Regions from separate parts of the Homo sapiens genome. Here all the other regions are linked to region 1. The links are contacts of gene promoters, found by promoter capture Hi-C in blood cells and fetal thymus (Javierre and others, 2016). All regions are on one chromosome and are shown on one strand. Each heading gives the region's core, a stretch centred on a gene start or on the middle of the fragment in contact. The rest is flanking DNA. Distances are from core to core; before and after follow the strand shown.

Region 1 (4,234 bases), core at 1,556-4,055:
TGGAACTAATAGTAGTTAGTGTTATCAACAATTTTCTCCATTTTCTCTAAGTAGCATCCATGTAGCAAAATTTACTTCTAGAAGATTCAAAGTCTTTCTCTACAACTCTTTAATTAGGTTATTTCTTTTTACTCCTGACTCAACAGGCTTCCAGGTTCACTTTTCTTTGAAAGCAGAGGTTGCTGACAATATTACCAACATGGAAAGGTGGACTAGGAAAAAAAAGATGGATAGCTTGATTTATGTTGCTAACCTTGTATGGACTGTAGGACATTTAAAAATATTTTGTACTGGGTGTGGTGGCTCACTCCTGTAATCCCAGTGGTTTTGAAGGCCAAGGCAGGAGGATTGCTTGCAGGCAGGAATTTGAGACCAGCCGGGGCAACACAGCCAGTCCTCCTTCTCTATCAGCTATTTAGGAGGCTGAGGCAGGAGGATGAGGCAGGAGGATAGCTCGAGCCCAGGAATTCGATGTTGCACTAACCTATGATTACACCACTGCAATCCAGCCTAGCTGATAGAGTGAGACCCTGTTTCTAAAAAGAAAAAAATATTGCTATTTTATACAAAAAAATTTATGATAAAATGTCCTCTCCTTTAGGTTTTGTAGGTAACTGTATCCTATTTGCATTTGATCCACATGAAAGAACTCTGTTCTCAAAGTTTGCAGATGCTGTTGTTGCTTGTATTTGCTTTTACTCTGTTATGATGCTACCAAGATTTTGGTTAGATGGCTGTTATTCTAGGTGGCAGACATGCGGGTTTCCCTCCCTTTGCACAACTAAACAAGGTAGGCTTTGGTTCTGGGCAGTCACTGGTATTTACAAACCACTTATTCATGCCAGGTAATAGGGTTCCAGATTGGGTAAGTTTTATGTTCTGGTTCTTGGTATATGTTTAGACAGCTTATAAATGTAAATAAACATTCTACTCTTACAGGTGGAGTGTGGACACGGTGATATCCGTGTGACCGCCATTCCCAGCTGAAGGTTATCTCATCTATGATTTTCTTATACGTGACTGGCACCCCCTAGTGAATAGGGACTTAAGTTGACCTCCACGGTAGAAGAAATACCAGGGAAATACCTGAAGCTGTTTTAACAATTTCTCCTTGTATTAAGTATTATGCTGCAGTTTTGCGTGTGTGAATGGAAGTATGGGTAGAGATCTGTTCTCCCTAAAAACTCCAGGATTCCACAATATAGAAATAGTAATCAAATTTTTAGGTGAAGCTCGAACTAATCCGAACTTTGTTAGATCATCACTGTAAATGAATGGGTATTTATCCACTCCCTAAATGAAGAGACTTGACTGGATTTCTTTTTTTTATATAGCTACTAGAATCTGTTACACATAATTTAGGATTGAGACTTGAGAAATTGTCATTCCAATCCAGAAAACTTTAGATTTGCAAATATATTTGACAAATTAATAAATTAACATTTTATTTGGTTAATTTCAAGAATAGGGCATTTAAAGAAGTCTGTGTTTGCTTTAGTTCGGCAATAAAGTTCCTGCCACTCACAATAATCCTTATTATTCTCTGAAAGACATGTTATATTTTTGTCATCATAAATATTTATTAATTACTGTTTATAGCACTGGGTTAGGTACTCATCAAGCAACCAAAAATAATTCTTACCATCTAGGATGCTTCCAATATAAAATATAGACAATATATAACCAGGTCAATTGGGAAATAGATCATTTCAGTATGATAAAAGATAGTATTCACATTAACAGTGTGAAAGGGCAGGAACAATAAGACACTTGACTCACTGGTCTTTAAAATGTAGCATCCAAAATGAGCAAGTGGAGAAAAGGTTAAACAAGTAGGTGACACATTTAAAAAACAAGTAGATGAAAGGACTATTCTCAAAAATCTTGTTTTATGTGAGAAACCATCAAATTATGAATTCCAAGTACTGTATTTTTTTTACTTTTCAAGGGTAGGCTCTCCTATACCTTATCTAAACAATTTTTCAAAATAGCCACAATTACTTTGTTTTCCTCTCTACACTAAATTGCCCTTTGCCTCTTGAGCGATTATCTTTTTCAGATTCACCTCAACTTCTTCAGGTTCAAGCGGACTTCACCTGTAAGCCCCTCTCGGTTCTCCCTCTTCTCTGAACTACTAATGGCCTAATTTAGCACAATTATATTGCTTTGTTCATTCCATGTATAGTAAAAGAGTCTACAAAACACATGCAAGCATTCATGCAATTATATGTTGATTTGTTCATGGGTCGACCCCAAAGTCTATTCTCCATCGCTGAAGCATGGAAGACAAATACCCTTCACTTCTTCAGAGGCATAACACATGCACTTCTCTTGTCATGGTGACAGGCATGTGCTGGTGGAGGTCAAAGAAACAGGAACACAAGTGAAATCGAGGTGAGTGTCAGGTAAGGACCAAAGCACCACGCCTACCTCATCTTTGCCCACAGAACACCCATTCTTCCCGTGTCCTGTTTCCCAGGACGTATCCGGGGCGGATAAGAAATCACCCGTGGGGAGGCGGTGAACTCCTCCGCAGGGGCCGATGCCCGGGACAGGGGCGGGGAAGGCTAATGAGGCGACTTGTGCGGGGAGGGGCCAAGGAGGAGCCCAGGTGTCCCGCTCCCGCTCGACGGCGCGCGCCTGCGCGAGCCCAGTTGGCGTCGCACCCTTGAGCGCAGCATCCCTACGCCAGCGAGTCCCAATACTAGGGAGGGAGGGAGGGAGGAGGGGCGGCCGGCCCCCCGCCCCCGCGCGCGGCCACGTGACGCCGGCTGAGGAGATTGGAGGGGCGGCTGCGCGAGGCTGCAGACTGGTGCAGCGCACTGTGCTGGCGGCTGGGCCTCCTCCACCTCCTCGTCTTTCTCCCGGGAACCTTGACGACGCCTTCCGCTTGGCCCTGCCTTCTGCCGCATCCCCGCCGCCGCGGCGCCTTGAGGAGCAGGAGAAGACGCAGCCGGGCCGCCGCCGTTAGAGGGGTTCCCGGCCGCCGCTCGCCCCGTCGGCCGCCACCGCCTCCGGGGTCAGCCCTCTCTCTGGGTCTCCGCTTTCTCCTGCCGCCAGCGCCCGCTCATCGCCGCGATGGGGCTCCTGGACTCGGAGCCGGGTAGTGTCCTAAACGTAGTGTCCACGGCACTCAACGACACGGTAGAGTTCTACCGCTGGACCTGGTCCATCGCAGGTAAAGCCGCTGACTTCCCCATCCTCGCTCGGTCCCCCGCGGGGGGTCACCGGCCCCTGGTCTCGCAGCTCCCGGGCCCGGCCCCACAGGCCCCCGCGCCCTGCGGCTTTCGGATGCTGCGGATCAGCGGAGGGGCCGGCGCGGGCACTGCGGTTGAGCACTGGTTAATCTGATCCGAATGTTAAGGCCTCCCCTCCCCCGACACTCGCAGGGTTTTCTTCTGAGCTCCCTCCATCTCTCATCAGCTCTCGGATGCGGGAGCTGACATATCAGATGGAGCCTGTGCAGCCAGGAGCTCCTCGCAGGAGCCGCCCCACCCTGTGCTCCCACATCTCCCGAGCTCGCCTCCCTCTTCCCCGTGCACAGGATTCCTTTTAACATTTAGTCCTATTTTGTATGGAGAGCGGGCTGGGGAGGAAGGAGGGCTTCAGGGGCAGCTGAAGGTACAGGAGGTTTCTTCAGCCTCCTGGTCGCTTTGACAGAACCCTGCTAATCTTTTCTTCTATCTAGCTCCTTCATCTATAGTATAATTCGGACTGAAAAGTAAAATAATATTGTTTGGCTCCTTGAACCTTGAAGAATGTTAGTTTCCGAGGCATTTTCAACAGCAAATATGTTTGAAGTGATTGTCTATAATGGCTTTGCGCACTGCAGTGCAGTCAGGGGGAGGGGGAGGCCAAAACACCGGGGAAGAAATCAGTCTTTAGGAAGGGGGTCTCTACAGCAACACCTAGAGGTTGTCCCAGATGCCTACATATATACAGTTCTTAAATCAGCAAACTTTTCTTTAGCTGTTGCAGTTAATTTGGCAGGGCTGTCAATTGTTTGATTTATGCAGCTTTCCTAGCGTCCAACTGTGATATTATATTTTTACATTGTACTGTTTATTTCTTCATTTGCTTCGCTGCTTTTGATTTTAAAGCATTTAAAAGTCTTTGAAATCTAAAATAAGGTTTAAAGGATTTCAGAAATGATTTTACGAGGTCAATTTTTCTGGTCCTTTTGCAGTATCACACTGCATCCTATCAGTGAAGGATATTAACGTTCCATCTTATG
Region 2 (4,549 bases), core at 1,760-4,259, 34 kb before region 1:
CTAGTGGCCCAAGCAGGAGACAAAGCTCAAGCTCTTTCCTATAGGCTCTTCAGGTTCCAGGAAAATAGGCTGGCTTCACAAGTTCCCTTGACATGCTTGGACGGGCCCAGATTCAAGCTGAAACTGCTATCTTGACACACAAGAAAATCTTCAAATGAACTCAGCTGTAACAAACCTTCAAACCACATAAAGCCATCCCACACCCTTGGCAATAAACACAGCCAACAGCAGCAGAGGCCATGAGGTGGCAGCAGGAGCAACTTAAAGACCATGAAAGGGAATACAGAAGCCAACCACCTCACAAGATACTCTGCCAAGAACAAGAAGGAATTTGGGCTTCGGACAATTCTGCTCAAATTCCTCCATGATACTCCTCAAACTGAGAACACAGGTTACTTGTTATTATACAAGTATATAGAATGACAGGATATATAAATCATTAAAATAGTTGTTGCTTTTGGATGATGAAATTGTGATGCTTTTTCTAAATAAAGTTTAATTTGTATATTTTGCTACTCTGTTTTTACAATTAAAGGACAAGGGAAAAAATGAAGATTGTTATTATATATCTGTGAACCTAACCATTCTAAGGTCGGCAGAAAAGTAACCTCTTGTTCAAGCTAAGAGTTAATAATTAATTACCTCTAAGCCTTGTTCAGTTTGTAAATTTGTATGTTGAATGCCATAACATAAAAATAGCAGAACCTCAGTTCACAAATTCAAAAGTTCAAGAACCATCATATTTGTTTATAATCTGTAAATCACTTGAAATCCAACTCCATGCCCTGTTCCTATAGGCTATTGAGAAATTTAGTAGTAATTGAGGCTCCACCAGCCCAAGGCTGTACCTTGCACCTCATGTATCACTAAGACTCAGGAAGACCCCAGTCATTAATCATTTGCTCACACTGTTTTCTGCTGAAATGCCAGGACATTTTCAGGGGCTCTGCTGCTTTGGTCCACGTTCAGTGACGGGAATCATCAGAAGGCTCATAGTACCTGTGCTGAAGGTGTGGCCTTCTGAGTGCCCCCAGAAGTAAGCCAGCTCCTTTAGTCGTCATGCCACCCTTTGACTCCGCAGAAAGGAAATATAAAGTAACCGGCCACCTGTTTGCAAATAATATTTCTCAAAATGTAATTAACATGAATCTCTACAGAACATTTATAACAACTAAAACACACACGCAATTAACTTTACTAACATAGAGCTGTGATAATAAAGCTAAATAGCATTCTGAGATTCTAAAATAATTTCTGCAGATTAAATAGAAGGCGAGGAATGGTCAAAGCCTTTTCTAATATGTATGTGTTTCTCTTTCCTATTTTAAATTATATTTTAATGGTATCTTCTATGAGGGGCCTGAATTACTTGCCACCTGAATACAAAAAGGTTCAAAATCTTTCCTGAGTTAGCGATAAAAAATACCTTATTTTATCTAATACGTTGAGGCCTGAAGTTTCCTTTTCACATAATGAAATGTGCATCTTTTGTGATAGGACCAATGTCCTAATACTTTCATATTGTTCTCTTTTATTTCAAAGGTATGTAAGAGTTTCATTTGCTTTGAGCACACAGATGCAGTAAGTCATTCATCTGGGGTGGAGGATAGACGTCGCCCACACAAAGTCTTTGCACAACATTAGTCTGATTAGAGTTCCACTTGCGCCATGGACACACAGGATAGTGACAGATGTACCTGTCAGAGGCTCACTCCCTGCTTTATCTGATAGGGAAAGGCTGCCCAGGGAGTGTCCAACAACTGGACTAGTCCTGTCAGAACCCACAGGTGCCTCTGGGGCAAAGAAGGGGGCAACGAGGGTGCCTTTCCTCTAAAATCAAGCAGGCTGAGAAAAACTAAGAAGCTCCTTCTCCATCATCACTGTAGATGAGTGCAGGATGGAGAGACAGAAGAAAAGCAAACAATGATAAAATGGTAATATTTATTTTGACAACATAAGTATCTTGTAGAAAATAAACGATTTGAATTTTAAAAATCAAAGGTGAGGGAAAGAGTAATAGGAATTCAAGGGAAAACAGCATTCCTATATTAGTGAGTAAAATAGATGAGGTTTTAAAAAACAAGGATCTCTGGGACAATACATTAACAAAGTTTTGCTATTTGATAGTTGGTGAATTAGAATTCAAAATTATAGTCATTTAAAAAATATATATCTTATTATATAATCACATCAAATAAACTCATATCAATATATAATGGTAATAGTAACAATAGTAATCAGTCCTAACTTCCTGAAGGAAATATCACAGAGTGAAACAAAAAATGACAATGTTTTATATTTGTAAACCACTTTACAATTTTCAAAGTGCTTTCACTTAAATGGTCCCATTTGATCCTCATATCAGTCTATGAGATAGGCAGCACAATTTTTTCTTTCAGCAGTGTGCAGGTAGGAGATTGAAGCCTAGACCAGTTTAGTGATTTGCCCTGGGGGTATATGGCTTGGATATACCAACACTAGAAATAGAATTCTGGACTTTTGCTTCCCAGTGCATTTTTATTTCTTATCAAATGGTTATTCACAGCTCTACAGTTTCTGTCATTGAAAATAGACATAAATTTCCAGAGGTGAGTAAAGCTTGTCCATAGATAGGTATAATTCACAGTATTTATCCATATTGGATTGATACATTTTAGGGTTGACCCTTTTCATGTATTATTAAAATAATGAGAATCAACCTAATAAACAACTCAGCTTACAACTTTCCTTTGTACTCTCCAAAAGTCTCTTCGATCGTAGTTCCGTTGGCAGATGTAGCTTTTGAAGAGCATCGCTTCTACCTACTCCACCCTTTGACCCAGTTTCTACCAAAAGCTGGCACCACAGCTATTATATTGCATATATTGCAGAAGCTTTGAGCTTCTTTAAATCTGTCTCAGCAATTTTCAACCAGGCTATTTAATTCACCCAGGAAAGGGCAGAAGTAAGGAGACATATATGCAAGGATGTTGTCAGGTTCATTCTCTTTCCCACCTATTTCCTAGGTCCATCCCTTTCCTACCAGGCTTAGGAGTAAAAATACAGATGGGTTAGGAGAGAGACTGTATTTTGTTTCACACAGACCTTGAGAGGCCATACCAACACTGTCAGCTCTGAGGGATCCTCAAAAGCCATGGAAGCTTCAGCTGTGATGCAATTCCATGGAGAACATCTTGTTTCACTGAAAACTTTCTGGTTACCATGGGCCCCGCTTATGATCAGAAAAGATCCATCCTAACATTTGTGAGATCCAGGGCAATAGTGCAAATAGAGGTCCATATACTATTTGTCTAAATATTTAAATGTCATGTAAACGAGCTGTAATATTAAATATGTTCTCTCCTTCTGTGCAATAATGGTACATCTGTAATAACAAAATTGAAATACATGTTTGACACTACAGTTTCATGTTATTGATAGTTGGCAAAAAAGAAAAGTTATTTGAATTTAATTATTACTCTATTTTTGGGATTTTTTTTTTTTTTTTTTTTTTGAGACAAGGTCTTGTTCTTTCACCTCGGCTGGAGTGCAGTGACTCACTATAACCTTGAACTCCTGGACTCAAGTGATCTTCCCACCTCAGCCTCCCAAGTAGCTAGGACTATAGGCACATGCCACCACACCAAGCTTTTTCATTTTTTGTGGAGAGAGGGGTCTCACTATGTCATCCAGACTGGTCTTAAACTCATGAGCCCCCATGTTCAGCTGGGATTTCTGTTGATAAGCCAATCATTTTTGAATTATAACATGAAACAATATAATTTATAAGTTATTTATAAATTGATTTATTTCATACATTTATTTTTCTTACTTTCATTAGAAAAATATCACTTATTATGTTGTGTTAATTAAGACTTTCAGACAATTTATGTTCTATTGAGAGTACTAACCTAAAGGACTAAAAATTTTTATTTATTTATTTATTTTTGAGATGGAGTTTTGCTCTTGTTGCTCAGGCTGGAGTGCAATGGTGCGATCTCAGCTCACTGCAACCTCCACCTTCAGGGTTCAAGCAATTCTCCTGCTTCAGCCTCCCAAGTAGCTGGGATTACAGGCATGTACCACTATGCCCGTATAATTTTGTATTTTCTCAGTAGACATGGGTTTCACCATGTTGGTCAAGCTGGTCTCAAACTCCTAACTTCAGATGATCCACCTGCCTTGGCCTCCCAAAGTGCTGGGATTACAGAGATGAGACACCATGCCTGGCCAGGGCTAAAAATTAATTGTAACCAGGCAAGGTGCCACCAGCCTGTAGTTCCAACTACTGTGGAGGCTGAGGCAGGAGGACCCTTTGAGTGCAGGAGTTCAAGGCTGAAGTTTGCTATGATTGTGCCTATGAATAGCCACTGTAATCCAGCCTGGGCAATCTAGTGAGACCCATCTTTAAACCAAATAAAGCAAAATTAATTATAATTACAAAATTTCAGCAAAAATTATAATAAATATAAAATTAGAATTATTTTTCGTGTTTTTTCAAAAAGTCATTTTTTATATTCAAAATTATTTATTAAACTAAAAGTCAAAATACAAACTAATGCATATACAA
Region 3 (4,226 bases), core at 308-2,807, 51 kb before region 1:
CATAATTTTTTTTTAAATGTATCCAGGTTGGGTGCAGTGGCTCATGCCTGTAATCCTAGCACTTTGGGAGGCTGAGGCGGGGCAGATCACCTGAGGTCAGGAGTTCGAGACCAGCCTGACCAACATGGAGAAACCCCGTCTCTACTAAAAATACAAAATTAGCCAGGCGTGCTGGTGCATGCCTGTAATCCCAGCTACACGGAAGGCTGAGGCAGGAGAATCACTTGAAACTGGGAGGCAGAGGTTGTGGTGAGCCAAGATCTCGCCATTGCACTCCAGCCTGGGCAATAAGGGCGAAACTCTGTCTCAAAAAAAAAAAAAAAAAAAATATATATATATATATATATATATATCTCCATACATTTTCAGTCTCTGCTATATAGAGAGAGCCTCACGTAGTTGGTTAATATACCACAATATCCTGAAGAAAATAAGCAGGATATTGAAAAAAAACGTGCAAATATAATCCCAGAAACATTGCTGGCAATCTCTGAAAAGTCATAATAAGTAGAAGCAATGATAGAAAGCCAGAAATGGATGGACAAGTGTTACCTTTTTGGAAAAGGTAGAATTTGGAAGCTATTAATCTCTATAATCTCAATGTAGATTTTAGAATTTTAGACCCCTTCTGGGATCAATTACCGAACTGTTTGGAAGCAAAGATCTCTAGAAGCCAATGTAAATGCATTAAGAGCAGGCTATATAGAATATACTAAGTTCTGATTTTGATTGTTTGTATATTTAGAAAAGGGAAGGCCATAAATACAGACTATCTTAACTTTGGCAAATAAAATGATAAAGGCTCTCTTACTGCTTTTGTGGAAGAAAGGAGCAAGTAATTCCCATATGGTTAATGTGAAGTATTTCTGCAACTCTGGATCATTTTTCTCCAAGATCACTTGTTAATAGTTTGAGAACTTCAGGTTGATCCCTAGTAGAAGGTCTCAGAACTCTGTCTGTGGTTTTATTCTAAACTACATATCTTATCTGTGTCACAAACATATAAAAATAATGCTTAACTTTTCATATGAATTAAAAAAAGACAAAATTAGAAGATACTTTAAAAGGACAAAGTTGATAATATGCAATTTATAGAGATAAATGTAAGTCTGTACATTTAGATTTCTAAAAATAATAAAATTATCAAATACACAGTTAGAGTCTAGCCAAGATGAAGAAACATGGTTCAGATTTATTCTCTGAAACAACAGTAACAACAAAAACTATACAAAATAAATGAAATAATGGTTTTCAAGCATCAGACATCAGGCAATACAGTACAGTGATCCTTAAGAATAGTGAAACAAACAAGTGAGTCATAATGTTGCCTCCAGATTACTTACTGGTGAGAGTTTCCAAGCTTCAGTGTACAAAGGGAGAACCCAGGCATTGCCTGGTATTCTAAAGTTAGGAAGATGGAGTTCATAGTCTGGAATGGCCAAGGCAGGTGAAGTTCACAGGACAGCGTACCAGAGAAAAAGAGCAGAACAGAGAGAGAATTCTGGAAATCTGCAGAGAATGTCCTTGAGTCTCCAGCTCTGTATTGGTAAGTGCAAGTGTATGTGGAAACTATCACAAGACCAGAGGAAGATAACAACCAGGGGAAAGAATAAAAGGGAATAATGTCAAGAGCTCATAAAGGACAAGAAATAGTTTTTGTTCACAAAGCAACAAGTAGAAGACTCATGATATTGCCTTAGAACTGGAGCAAAATTAGCCCTACAGCATGCAATGGCCCAGTCTATAAAAGCTTAAGAGCAAACCTTAAAAGGATCAGTATTTATAGAAATATGAGAAAATCCAACTGGGTCAAATTTACAATGTCTGGCATCTAATTAAAAAATTACTAGGCACTTAAAGCAGGAAAATGTAAATCTAAATGAGGAAGTGGGGGTGGAAATCAGTCAATTAAAACAGATGCAGAAGTGGCACAGATTACCCACTAATAGACAAACAGTAATTATAACTGTATTCCATATGTTCCAGAAAGTAGAGGAAAGTGTAAACATGTTAAAAAGAAATATGGAATATATGAGAAGACCAAAAACAAATGTATAGAGATGAAAAATGCAATACCTGCAATAAAAATTATATTGGATAGGATTAATAGCAGATTACAGTCTGGAAAACAAAATATCCTAAACTTGAAAACATATCAATAATAAACTATGCAAAATAAGGCACAGAGAAGCAAAGAAACAAAAATACAAAGAACTTCAGTGAGTTGTGGAAAAACAATGTGGCATAATGTACATGTGATTGGAGTTTTCACAAGAAAGAAGGGAGAATTGAAGAATATATTTGAAGAAAAAATGGCCAAAATTTGTTTAAATATGTTGAAAACCATAAACAAACAAATTGAAGAAGTTCAACAGATTCTAAACACAAAAAACTTCATGAAAACAACACCTGTGCACATTATTACATTGGACAAAACTAATGATAAAGAGAAAATATTAAAAGCAACCAGAGGAAAAGTACAAATTAGATATAGATGAACAATCATAAGAACAGTAGACTTCTTGCCAGAAACAATGTAAGCTGGGCAACAATGGAGTGACATCTTTAACCCTTTTCCCATTTAGGAAAAAAAACTACAGTTGCCTGCCATCACTCATTTAATTTTACATAAACATGCTTTTTGAGGCTGAAGCAAATCTGACTGATTTTCAATGTGAAAATAAAATCTAAAAACTGCTCTTGGAGTTATTTCTAAACGTAACTAACATCAGAATTGTCTGAATCATCAGTATTGTCAGTTTTGAAAAAATTGGATTCATCAAATCAATCTTCAGCCAACAACTGTTTGAGAATGATGTTAACATCACACGTAGAAATGCTGTGTTTTATAGGATTTGACATTTTCAGCAATTGAGAATTACTATGTTTTGTAAATGGAAATACAAAACACCAGTACTAAAAACAGAATATTGTAATACTGTTATTATTTTATTTATTTTTTATTTTTTTGAGACAGGGTCTTTCTCTGTTGCCCAAGCTGGAGTGCAGTGGTGCGATCTCGGCTCACTGCAATATCTGCCTCCCAGGTTCAAACAATTCTCCTGCCTCAGCCTCTCAAGTAGTTGGGATTACAGGTGTGTGCCACCATGCCTGGCTAATTTTGTATTTTTAGGCTGTTCTCGAACTCCTGACCTCAAGTGATCTGCCTGCCTTAGCCTCCCAAAGTATTGGGATTACAGGTGTGAGCCACCTCACCTGGCCCAGAATGTTGTAAGTAGAATGATGTCTTTGTTTCCAAAGTCAATGTACTAGAATGATGCAAAAATAATAAAAGTGAGATATTTTGTGGCAAATTTATCTCAGGGTAAACACAGCAGCTACAGGCATGTATTCTTGGGGCAAACAGGAAAAGGGTTAAAATGCTGAAAGAAAAAGAAAAAATAATTCTATAAACCTAGAATTGTTATTTCCAGCAAAAATATTGTTCATTATGAAGGGAAAATAAAGATTTTTTTTCAGACATACAAAAGCTGAAATAATTCATCACCAGTAGAATGGCACCACAAAAATTATTAAAGGAAGCCTTCAGGCAGAAAAATTCTGAATCTACATAAAAGAATAAAGAATACTGGAAATGGTAAATATGTGGATATGTAAAAAGATATTTTTCTTATTTTTGAAATCTCTTTAAGAGATAACTAAAGCAAAAGATGATAACAATGTACTGTCAGGTTTATAACATATAGAGAAGTAAAACATGACAACACTCACACCAGTGCTGGGAGGAGGAAAATGAAAGAATATTATTTAAGGTTTCTTTCTACTCTACATAAATTGGTATATTACTTGTGATAAGTTAAAGGTGAACTCTATAAACCTCCATTCTCTATCATGGTAACTAGCCACATGTAGCTCTTGAGCCCTTGAAATGTAATTGGTCCAAAATGAATGTGCTGTAAGTATAGAATACACACCAGATTTCAAAGACATAGTGTAAAAAGAATAAAATTTACCATTAATATTTATATACTGTTGCAAATTATTAATATTATTATTATTAATTGAAATTACAATAATTTGGGAATATTACTTTTAATTTCACCTGCTTCTTTTAACTTTTAAAAAGTGTGGCTATTAGAAAACATATAAATTACATATGTGGCTCACATTATGTATCTATTGGACAGTGTTACTAGAAACCCTAAAGTAGCCACTAAAATCAAACAAACACAAGTAAAAGCCAACAAACAAACAAAAAAAAACAC

The links. The method cuts DNA at HindIII sites, captures the fragments that hold promoters and counts their contacts. A CHiCAGO score of 5 or more calls a contact.
Region 2: a fragment that was not itself captured here is called in contact with the fragment with the promoter of ELOVL4 in region 1 in 1 of 17 cell types (fetal thymus); the score reaches 5.4 in fetal thymus.
Region 3: a contact is called between a fragment that was not itself captured here and the fragment with the promoter of ELOVL4 in region 1, in 1 of 17 cell types (fetal thymus). The highest score is 7.6, in fetal thymus.

What each region holds. Positions count from the first base shown.
Region 1 is chr6:79,946,124-79,950,357 of GRCh38, reverse strand. ELOVL4 (ELOVL fatty acid elongase 4) reads left to right here and starts at 2,805. Exons shown (of 6, transcript NM_022726.4): 1 at 2,805-3,178. The coding sequence starts at 3,079. LOC124901350 reads left to right here and starts at 725. Exons shown (of 2, transcript XM_047419628.1): 1 at 725-790; 2 at 2,347-2,971. The coding sequence starts at 2,543. The coding sequence ends at 2,971. LOC124901351 (a long non-coding RNA gene) reads right to left here and starts at 2,553. Exons shown (of 3, transcript XR_007059656.1): 1 at 2,431-2,553. RefSeq lists a silencer at 2,696-2,745. The HindIII fragment of the contact is 8,446 bases long and covers 1-4,234 here.
Region 2 is chr6:79,980,115-79,984,663 of GRCh38, reverse strand. No RefSeq gene overlaps it. Among named protein-coding and RNA genes, the nearest start is that of TTK, 22 kb to the left of the region's middle. The HindIII fragment of the contact is 267 bases long and covers 2,876-3,142 here.
Region 3 is chr6:79,996,238-80,000,463 of GRCh38, reverse strand. No RefSeq gene overlaps it. Among named protein-coding and RNA genes, the nearest start is that of TTK, 6.3 kb to the left of the region's middle. The HindIII fragment of the contact is 390 bases long and covers 1,363-1,752 here.